Linked DNA regions of Homo sapiens: region 2 is linked to region 1. The links are contacts of gene promoters, found by promoter capture Hi-C in human tissues and cell types (Jung and others, 2019). All regions are on one chromosome and are shown on one strand. Each heading gives the region's core, a stretch centred on a gene start or on the middle of the fragment in contact. The rest is flanking DNA. Distances are from core to core; before and after follow the strand shown. Region 1 holds the start of NPFFR1 (neuropeptide FF receptor 1). Region 2 overlaps PPA1 (inorganic pyrophosphatase 1).

What was found. The method cuts DNA at HindIII sites, captures the fragments that hold promoters and counts their contacts. A contact is called where the count stands out against the background at its distance.
Region 2: a fragment that was not itself captured here is called in contact with the fragment with the promoter of NPFFR1 in region 1 in 6 of the 25 tissues and cell types used here (IMR-90 fibroblasts, hippocampus, lymphoblastoid cells and 3 more).

Annotation. Positions count from the first base shown.
Region 1 is chr10:70,279,293-70,285,296 of GRCh38, forward strand. NPFFR1 (neuropeptide FF receptor 1) reads right to left here and starts at 4,712. Exons shown (of 4, transcript NM_022146.5): 1 at 4,378-4,712. The coding sequence starts at 4,384. RefSeq lists an enhancer at 3,919-4,420. The HindIII fragment of the contact is 15,240 bases long and covers 145-6,004 here.
Region 2 is chr10:70,199,239-70,204,835 of GRCh38, forward strand. PPA1 (inorganic pyrophosphatase 1) reads right to left here. Exons shown (of 11, transcript NM_021129.4): 11 at 3,597-3,948. The coding sequence ends at 3,917. It also overlaps the pseudogene RPS25P9. Among named protein-coding and RNA genes, the nearest start is that of PPA1, 31 kb to the right of the region's middle. The HindIII fragment of the contact is 5,068 bases long and covers 1-4,590 here.

The DNA.
Region 1 (6,004 bases), core at 3,462-5,961:
TGTACCACCACACCCGGCTAATTTTTGTATTTTCAGTAGGAATGGGGGTTCACCATGTTGGCTAGGCTGGTCCCAAACTCCTGACCTCAGGTGATCCGCCTGCCTCAGCCTCCCAAAGTGCTGGAATTAGAGGCGTGAGCCACTGCACCCAAACTCAATCTTTATTTATTTATTTATTTATTTTTAAGATGGAGTCTTGCTCTGTCGCCCAGGCCAGAGTGCAGTGGCACAATCTCAGCTCACTGCAACCTCCACCCCCTGGGCTTAAGCAATTCTCTTGCCTCAGCTTCCCGAGTAGCTGGGATTACAAGTGTGTGCCACCACACTCAGCTAATTTTTGTATTTTTTAATAGAGATGGGGTTTCACCATGTTGGCCAGGCTGGTCTCGAACTCATGACCTCAAATGATCTTCCCGCTTTGGCCTCCCAAAGTGCTCTGATTACAGGCATGAGCCACTGCACATGGCCCTCTTGGCAATTTTGAAATGTACAATACTCTATTATTAACTCTATGCACCATGCTGTGCAATAGAATTCAAAAAAAGAAAACCATTTCTTCTGTCTAACTGAAATTTTGTACTCTTTGACCACCATCACTCCATTCTCCCCCACCACAGAGCCACTCTACTCTCTGGTTCTATGAGTTCTATAGTTTTAGATTCAATATATAAGTGAGAACATGTGGTATTTGTCTTTCTGTGCTTGACTTATTTTACGTAGTATAATGTTCTCCAATATTGTCCATGATGTTTTAAATGACACAATTCTGTCTTTTTAAAGGCTGAATAGTATTCCATTGTGTTTACATACCCCATGTTCCTCATCCATTCATCGGTTTATATACACTTAGTTGATTCCATAGCCTGGCTATTGTGGATAGCGCTGCAATAAACACGGTGGTGCAAACATCTCTTCAAGTAACTCATTTCAGATTTTGGGGTAAGTACCCAGAAATGAACTTGCTGGATCATATGGTAATTCCGTTTTTAGCTTTTTGAGGAACCTCCATACTATTCTCCATAATGACTGTGCAAATTTATTACATTCCCACCAACACCACACAAGGGTTCTCTTTTCTCCACATCTCCAACAACACTTACTTATCTTTCGTCTTTTTGGTAAAAGCCATCCTGACAGGTATGAGATGATGTCTCATTGCGGTTTTAACTTGCATTTTCCTAATCATCAGTGATATTGGGCATTTTTTCATATACCTGTTAGCCATTTGTATGTCTTCTTTCGAGAAATGTCTATTCAGATTTCTTACCATGTTTTAATTGGGTTTTTTGTTTTCTTGCTGTTGAGTTGTTTGAGCTCCTGGATTTGTTCTTAGTGAGTACTAATATAGGCTCCTAATGAACAATACATTATTTTCTTTCTTTTTGAAAACGCTTTTTTGTTTTGTTGTGCTTATTATAAAAGAATTCTAGGCTGGGCGTAGTGGCTCACACCTGTAATCCCAGCACTTTGAAGGGCCGAGGCGGGCAGATCACGAGGTCAGGAGTTCAAGACCAGCCTGGCCAACATGGTGAAACCCTGTCTCTACTAAAAACACAAAAATTAGCCAGGCATGATGGCACATGCCTGTAATCCCAGCTACTCAGGAGGTTGAGGCAACAAAATTGCTTGAACCTGGGAGACAGAGGTGGCAGTGAGCCGAGAACACGCCACTGCACTCCAGCCTGGGCAACAGGGCGAGACTCCGTCTCAAACAACAACAACAACAACAACAAAGAATTCTGAGCACCGCAAAAGAGAGAGTAAACCTGACAGAACCCTCACATCCAGAGATAACCCCTATGTTTGTGATGCTCTCTGCCTGCCACATCCCATTGGCCCAAAGATTTCAGCTGGGGTGAATGGTTCCTCAAATTTTTAGCACCCCACCAGGTCTGCACCTGGGAGTCTCTCTGCTCTGCTTCCTCTGAAGTCACAAAAAGGGACAACCCAAAACTGCAGGAGTGGGGCAATACCAGACCAGTGGGGAGGTGAAGCAGCCAACGCCACCTCTTAGGTGGGGTAAACCTCGGGTTCACCCTGCACTTTTCTCAGAGTGTCCCCAGCAGGATAGAACCCCCCAGTTGCCCACAGCTAAAACCAGCTCATTAAGGCACCCATTTCTTGCCTTTTCTCCCTTCTTCATCTCACTCTCCTCATTCCCTCACTTCCACTGCCCGGCATCATCTCCCAAATAGACTCCCTATATCCAAGCTCTTGTCTTAGGGTCTGCTTTCAGAAGCAGGAGAATCAAACAAAGATGTTAGTGACTACCTCTTTGCGTATACACTTGTATATGTATATTTCCAATAATAAACCTATGTAATTTTGCATAAAGGGGATCACACTACACATGCATTCAAAAACCTGTTTTTTTTTCTAATTACTCACAGTGGGTAGTGAACATATTTCCATGTCAATAAAGAAAATCCTAAGCACAGTTTTTAATGTCTGCATAGTATGCCATTGCAGAAGTGTCTCATTTTTTATTTAATTTACATAATTTATGGCTATCTGGATGGTTTCCAATTTTGCACTGTGATGAACATGCTCAGGCACACATCTTTGCAAGTGTGCAGCTCAGAATTTGAAAAAATTCTGAGCTGAGGGAGTGCGTTGTTGTCTCCTAAGTGTACACTGTGTTTGGTCATTTCTTCTGGAATTTTAATAGAGGTCAAAACTAATCTTAGCAGTGTAGAGGCTTTTTAGATAAAAAATTTATATTTCCCTTTTTTGAAAATCAGGACATTTGCCCATCTTCAGTTTTCTGGCACTTCCTTCATTCTCTGTAGTTTCCTCAAAAGCAATGATTATATCTGTAAATACCTCTGGGTCGCTGGGATGTCATATGTCTGGGCTTCAATGAGTGAGCTCATTGTAGGTAACTTGATGTCTTCTTCCTATCGCTTGACTATCTTGGGTCTCTATTTCCTCCTTATCCTCTTTATTCCACAATTTGAAGTAAAATTGCCTGTATCTTGCTCTGCCTGCCCTCGAGCCTAAGCCAGAGCAGATTCCTTCTTGTTATTCTTAGACTTTGAAAGCTTTTTGCTCTTGTCTTTGCCAATTTCCCCCGACTTCTGTTCACTGGAGCTTCAGGGCTTTGCTAACGCCATTCTTACAGATCTGCCAATCTTCCAGATTCCTCTTGGGTTATTGATTCCTTCTTGCCTCTTTTGTGTGTGTGCTTTTCATACCCTGGCTCATTGGAAAACTACAAGTGCAGCCTCACAAGATTTTCTATAAAACTTGATTTTATTTTTTAACAGCAGTGTTTGCAATTACTAATTGGAATTTTGGGGTTTTATTACCTCTTGCCACAGCTGCCTCATACTGGCGTGTTGTACAACATATCTTATTTTATCCTCACAGACACTCTCTGAAGCCAGCTGAATGTTAAGTTCCCCCATTCGATAGATGGGTGACCAGTGGCACAGAAAGGTTTAGGCACTATCTCAAAGACACCCAGCAAGACAGTGGACGAGCCCTTGGTTTTCCAGTTTCTTAGCCTAAATATGGTTCCCCTTGTCCACAATGGCTGAGAGAGGGTTCTGGTAAAGTGGGAGCAAGCAGCCTTATGCCTTGGTCCGCTATCCCTTAAAATCCTGAAGGTAAGGTCCATAGTTCACTCTCCTTTCCTTAGGGAGAGAAATTCTCTCTACATGGAGGATATCACCTCTAGAATCCCATCTCCCCAACAACCCCACCCCTTCAAGCAGACAAAGTCGGTGACAATTCTTCTGAAGCTAATAGCCAAGCTGTCCTCACCTGGTCTCAAATGATTCTCTGCTCAGACAGCAGGGATTGTGTGCGTGCACACACACAACAGGGACTCTCTCTTTTTGTGTGTGTGTGTGTGTGTGTCTTGTACATGCACACACATATGTACAACACAAATACAGAGGCACCCCAGGTCTTTCTCTCTCTCTCTCACTCTCTCTCTCTCTCTCACACACACACACAAGCACAACATGAATACAGAGGCACCCCCAAGTGTTTCTCTGCCTGTCTCTGTCTCCCTCTCTCAGTGTCTGTCTCTATGTCTCTGTCTCTGTCTCTCTCTCTCTCTCTCTTTCACACACACAGGCACAACATGAATACAGAGCACCCCCAGGTCTTTCTCTCCATCTGTCTCTTTCTGTCTGTCTGTTTTTCTGTCTCACATACACACGCACACACACACACACCATGAACACATGGGCACCCCAGGTCTCTCTCCCTCACTCAGTGTCTCTGTCTCTGTCACACACAGAGTGTCACAACGTCTGGCTCTGGACAGCCATGGGTGATCAGCTGCCCGGCCCTCTCCTCTCCCTTCGCCCCATGCCCCGGAGTCGGTACCCTGCCCCACGGCTGGCCCCCAGCCCCAGGACCACTCACCCTCCATGATGCCCCCAGTTGCGGGCTCCGGCGGTCTCCGATGGCGGGAGGCAGCGGGCCCCTTCGGGCCAGCGGGCAGAGGGACGGTCTCCGGGCACTTGGTTGCGGGCTGCGCCCCTGCCTCCGCGCTCCGCAGGTCCGGTCGGTCCGGGCAGAGGTGAGCAGGGGGCGTGCGCTCCCAGGCCCCGGGCCCTGGCCGGTTTCCCTCCCCTCGGGCTGACTGGCTCCCGCGCAGCGCTGCTGCCCGCAGGGCTCAGCCGCCCGCCGCCCCTCGCCTCCCGACCAGGGGAAGGAGGGGGCTCGTGAGGCGCAGTCGTCATGGCACCCGCGCACCTGTGCCCGCCGAGCGAGGGCGCCCCGGGCCCGCCTCCCGCATGGCGCTCTCTCCACAGAGCCCGAGCGCCCCTCCGAAGTAGGGGACACACCCCTCCTCCCACTGCAGCCCTGGCAGCGGCGTCCCGTAATTCCCCACCTCTCTCCCGTGCCTCATATGCCAGCCTCTGTCCCCACTCCTCATCCTTGCCCACCCTAGCCTGGGGTCCAGCACTCTGGGCCTTCCTGAGAAGGGGATGAGAGGTAGCTGTGAAAACAGGAGGGCTTCGGGAGGGAGGCAGGGGGGAGCCCCACCAGCTCCCGGCTCTCCCAGGAGAATGGGGACAAGTTCTGCTAGGTGACCACGGCTTTGAAATTAACCAGTTCAGGCATTCACCGGGTGGTACCCTTGGAAAAGTTTCTTATAATAATACCTGTGCCTGAGTGTGTTTCTGCATTTGTAAAATGATTTTGAGGGGAGTAAATGTGATACCAAAGTTTCAGCCCAGCCCATAGTAGATGCTCAACAAATGGTTCCTTGAGCTGAATTGGAGAATACTCATCTCCAGCCCCTGTCAGGCACCCAGCAGGCACCACCATAAATTTTCGCCACATGAATAAAGATCCCAGGTTCTATCTGCACTCCTGTGTTTTTCTTGCAGCACTGTTTACAATAGCTAAGATTTGGAAGCAACCTAAGTGTCCATCAACAGATGAACGGATAAAGAAAATATGGTACATATATGTAAATGGAGTACTATTCAGCCATAAAAAAGAATGAGATCCAGTCATTTGCAACAACATGGATGGAACTGGAAATCATTATATTAAATGAAATAAGCCAGGCACAGGAAGCAAACGTCACATGTTCTTACTTATTTGTGAGATCTAAAAATCAAAACAGTTGAACTCATGGACATAGTAGAAGCATGTGGTTACCAGAAGCAGGGAAGGGTAGTGGGAGGATAGGGATGGTTAATGGGTACAAAAAAATAGCTAGAAAGAATGAATAAGACCTATTGTTTGACAGCACAATAGGGTGACTATAGTCCATAATAACTTAATTGTATATTTTTAAATAGCTTAAAAAGTATAATTGGATTGTTTGTAACTCAAAGGATTAGTGCCTGAAGGGATGGATACCCCATTCTCCATGATGTGCTTATTTCACATTACATGCCTGTATCAAAACACCTCATGTACCCCATAAATATATACACCTACTATGTACCCAACTATTTTTTTAAAAAAAGATCCCATGTTCTAGGCAGATGAAAGAAAGTGAATGGTCTATTCCTTCCTCTTTTAGGAGTCA
Region 2 (5,597 bases), core at 807-3,306, 83 kb before region 1:
TTGCAAAGCTCAGAGTGCAGTGGCGACCTCTGCAGCTTTACTGAGATGTTGGACTAAAAGGAAGCACTGCTCAGGAAAAGGCCAGAAGTCTCCCGCCGCTGTGAGTACTTCTAGGGCAAAGGAGGCAGTGTGGATTAAAAAATAAAAATAAAAATAAAGACATCTTTATGCTGCTTATAAGAAACTCACTTCAAATTCAACATAAATAGGTTGAAAGTAAAAGAATAGAACAAAATATACCATACAAACATTAGTTATTTTTTAAAAATGCAGGAGTAGCTATATTAATATCTGATAAAGTAGACTTCAGAGCAAAGAAAATTACTAGTGACAAACAGGGACATATGTAATAACAGAAAGTTCAATCCACCAGAATATATAGGATCCTAAAATGTACTCACCAAACAACAGAGCCTCAAAATACATTAAACAAAAACTGATAGAGCTAAAAGTTCAAAGGCCTCTATGGTTATAATCAGGGAATTCAAAACCTCCATTTCAGTAATTGATAGAACTACTAGAGAGAAAATCAGCAAGGGTATAGAAGATCAGAACAATACATAAACCAACAGGATCTCACTGACATAAACAGAACACTCCACCCAACAATAACAAAACACACGCACCCATGAAACACTCTGGACAGACCATCAAACAACCTCAATAAAAGAATCAAAATGACAGCATGTTCTCTGACCACAATGGAGCCAAACTAGAAATTAGTAACAGAAACACATTAGGAGATGTCTAAACACATGACTAGAATTGATCTATAGATTTAATGCAATGCCTACTAAAATCCCAGTACGATTTTTTACAGGCATAGACAATAGACATAGCCAAAACTTATTCTAAAATACATATGAAGATGCACAGGCCCTAGTTATACAATCTTGACAAAGAAGAATAAAGTGGGAAGAATCTATTTGATTTTAAGGCTTACCATGTAACTATAGTCATCAAGAGAGTGTGGTATCGGCAGACGGTCAGACATACAGATCAATGGAATGTAACAGAGGACCCAGAAATAGGCCCACACAGATATGCTCAATGGATATTTGACAAGCGTGCAAAACAATTCAATGGAAGAATAAGCTTTCAAAAAAATGGCGTTGGAGCAACCGGACATCCATAGGAAAAAATGAACCCATACCTAAACCATAAACCTTATATAAAAATAAACACAAAATGAATCATAGGCTTAAATGTAAGCTATAAAACTTTTAGAGAAAAACACAGGAGAAAATATTGTGATCTAGGGCTAGGAAAAGTTCTAACTTGATACCTAAAGAATGACCATAAAAGGAAAATGTGGTAAGTTGGTCTTTTTAAAAATTAAAAGATTTTGCTCTGTGAAAGAGTATGTGAAAAAAATGAAAGAACAAGTTGCCAACTGGGAAAAAAATGTTTGCAAACCAAATATCTGAACTCTGAAGGACTCCAAAACTTAACATTAAAAATGAAACTAAACAATTTTAAAATGAGTAAATGACATGAACAGACATTTCACCAAACAGGATATACAGGTGGCAAACAAGCACATGAAAAGATGTTTAACATCATTAGCTATTAGAGAAATGCAAATTAAAACTACCATGAGATACTACTACACACCCAACAGAATGGCTAAAATAAAATATAGTAGGCCAGGCAGGGCAGCTCACACTTGTAATTCCAGCAGCACTTTGGAAGGCCGAGGCGGGCGGGTCACTTGAGCCCAGGAGTTCGAGACCAGCCTGGGCAACATGGTGAAACCTCATCTCTACAAAAATTAGCTGGGCATTATGGCACACAACTGTATTCCCAGCTACTTGGGAAACTGAGGCAGGAGGATTGCTTGAGCCTGGGAGGTGGAGGTTGCAGTAAGCCAAGATTGTGCCACTGCATTCCAGCCTGGGTGACAGTGAGACCCTGTCTCAAAAAAAAAAAAAAAAAGGCAAACCAAATGCTGGCAAGGATGTGGAAAAATTGAATCACTCCAACATTGCTGTTGGGAATGTAAAATGTGACCATAACTCTAGAAAATTTGGTACCTTCTAATAAAACATGCATCTATCATGTGACTCAGCAATTACACTGCTAGAGATCTGAGAGAAATGAAAATGTTTTATGTTGACGTGAAAACATGTACAAATATGTTCATTGCAGCTGTATCTGTAATAGCCAAACACTGGATCAGCCCAGATGTCCTTCAACAGGTAAAACAAAACATATCATGGAAAGTACTCAGCAATAAAAAGGAATGAATAAAAAGAATGAAACATTGATATATGTGGCAACTTGAAGGAATACCGGGGAATTACACTGAGTGAAAAGCCAATCCTGAAAGGTTACATACTGTATGATTCCATTTATATAATATTCTTGAAATGACAAAATCATAGAAAAATGGAGGACAGATTAGTGGTTGCCAGGGGTTACGGATGGTGGTGTGCAGAAGACAGGGGGGAGGTGGGTGTGATTATAAAAGGGCAACACGAGAGATCTTGTGGTGTTGAAACTGTTCAATATCTTATAGGATACATAAACTTACCTAGGTGATTACACTATAGAATTATAAATTATATAGAATACATCATACAAATATTCATTAATACAGTGAAACTAGGAAGTCTGAATATGATTGGTGGATTTGGAGTCTGTATATGATTGGTGGATTATATCAAAGTCAATGTCCTGGTTGTTATACTATAGTTTTACAAAATCTTACTTTTAGGAGAAACAGGGTAAGGTATACAGAATTATTTGAATTATCTCTGAATTACTTTTTTAGAACTACATGTGAATCTATATTCATCTCAATAAAATTTTCATTAAAAAAATCTGAATGGGCTGGGCACAGTGGCTCACACCTCTAATCCCAGCACTTTGGGAGGCTGAGGTGGGTGGATCACTTGAGGACAGGAGTTCGAGAGCAGCCCGGCCAACGTGGTGAACCCCGTCTCTACTAAAAATACCAGAATTAGTCAGGCATTGTGGTGCATGCCTGTACTCCCAGCTACTTGGGAGGCTGAGGCAGGAGAATCACTTGAACCCAGGAGGCAGAGGTTGAAGTGGGCCGAGATCACACCACTGCACTCCAGCCTGGGCGACAGTGAGACCCTGTTTCAAAAAAAAAAAAAAGAATCTGAATGCATACTACATGCCATTACATGAATAATGTCTGTTTCACAGATGAAGGAACTGAAGTTGAGTGGTTGGTAAACTGACTTAAGATTACAGAGCTAGTAAGAAGATGGGCTGGCATTCAAACTGGTTTGTTCAGCTGATAACTTAGAATATAATATAAATGACTTAAGCGTCCAATTAGTTGACTGAAGAAGTAAAAAAATAACTATTAATATATAACTTCAAAGGGTGAGCAACATTGTGCTTTCTGCTAATATGATATAAATTTAAAAACTTTTGCTTTAGAATGGTATGCTAGGACTTATGTACTAGAGCATAGTATCAAGAGTACTATAAATATAAGCGATTTCTTCGTCTAATAATTATAAATTTGAATTATAAGACTATCAACAGAAAACAAACACCAAAAAATACCCATACCTACTTAATGTTGGCTTCAGATTAAAATAAAAATATCCTAAGCCAAGTTTCAGCAAAATAATTTTATTTCCTAACATATGGTAACATATACATCCAATATGTGCTCCCCTTGCACATCTATTCACAAGTGACTTCCAAATGACAACTGCTTTGATATTTAAGCATGTGCTAAAAGTTATCTTAGTTGAGATATGAAAAATGCTTTAGATGGATAACATTCTGAGTATATTGGATTAGTCACAGCAGAATTTACTTTAGTTAGATGAGTTCTACAAATTTAAAGCTTTGAAAAGCTACTACTTTTACTTCTAATACATCCAGATGAACACGATGTAGCAATATCAGCTTGTATTCCAGAGAAATCTCATTAGTTTTTCTGGTGATGGAACCACTTATCCACTGTATTCAGAGAAAAGAAAAACAAATTAGAATTCCTGTTGAGAATCAAAAATACACCTAACATATAACAAAGACTAATATACTTGCTTTAATGAATCCTACTATGAATTACCTGAAAATTAACAGGCATACATACAAAATTTCTCTACAGCAAATGCAGGTGTTTTCTTTTGGGCTTCCTTACACTTCATGCTAATTGCATAGTGTGATTTTCAAACTTTTTTTTTTAATTTCGAGACAGGGTCTCACTCTCTTGCCCAGATTGCAGTGCAGTGGCAGCAATCATGGCTCACTGCAACCTCCATCTTCCAGGTTCAAGCAATTCTCGTGCCTCAGTCTCCCCAGCAGCTGGTATTACAGACGTGTGCCACCACATCTAGCAAATTTTTGTATTTTTTTTTTGTAGAGACATGGTTTCTCCATGTTGGCCAGGCTGGTCTCGAACTCCTGGGCTCAAGTGATCCGCCCGCCTCAGCCTCCCAAAGTGCTGGGATGACAGGTGTGAGCCACCACACCCAGCCTTCAAACTTGTTTTTTTAAGTGGCAGAATCATTTTCTTACCAGAAAAATCTTACAGAGAATTCTGACATCTAAGGAGGAGAGAACTGTTTTCTGGGTGAAGCAGCCTGTGGCCAGGTGGGAATGTGGAGATCAGCCCACTCAGGGTCCCCTCCAGTGTCCAGCGGGCACCTCCATGGAACTCAGAGGGGCACAATGGGTCATGGTTTGGAAACCACTGTGATACAGTGTGGCACTAAAGGTGGTATGTAGCAGCTCATCTTCCTTCCCACGTACACTACAGAATTCTAAAAATGCTTCTCTTCTCACCCTTCTTCCCTCTCTTCCTGTGTATGTTAAAAATATGTACGTGGCTGCGTGCAGTGGCTCACGCCTGTAATCCTAGCACTTTGGGAGGACAAGGTAGGTGGATCGCCAGCCTGGGTGACATGGCGAAACCCGGCCTGATTAGTGTTCAAGACCAGCCTGGTTCGAGACCTGGTTTGAGACCAGCTTGGGCAACATGGTGAAACTCTATCTCTACAAATTATAAAAAAATTAGACAGGTATGGTGGCACATGTCTGCAGTCCCAGCTATTTGGGAGGCTGAGATGGGAGAATCACTTTAACTTGGGGGGGTTACGGGTACAATGAGCTGTGATTGTGCCCCTGCACTCCAGCCTGGGTGACAGAGTGACAGCCTGGGTGACTCTGTGTCAAAAAACAAAAAACAAGCCAGGTACAGAAAGACAAATACCACATGATCTCATTTATATGTGCAATATAAAAAAGGTAAATTCATAGAGGTAGAGAGTAGAATGGTGGTTGCCAGGAGCTGAAGGATGGGGAAAGGGCAGGCGATGGTCAAAGGGTACCAAGTTTTAGTTAGACAAAAGGAATAAGCTTTAGTGATCTATTGCACAGGATGGTGACTGTAACATCTATTTCAAAATTGCTAAGAGTAGATTTCAAATGTTTTTACCACACAACAAATAATGATTAAGTATGTGAGGTAATGATTTCGTAATTAGCCAGATTTAATCATTCCACATTGTAAACATATATCAAAACATCACACTGTACCCATAAATATATTTAATTATCATTTGTCAACTAAAAATAAAAGTAACATAATTTTTCCATAACTGTGT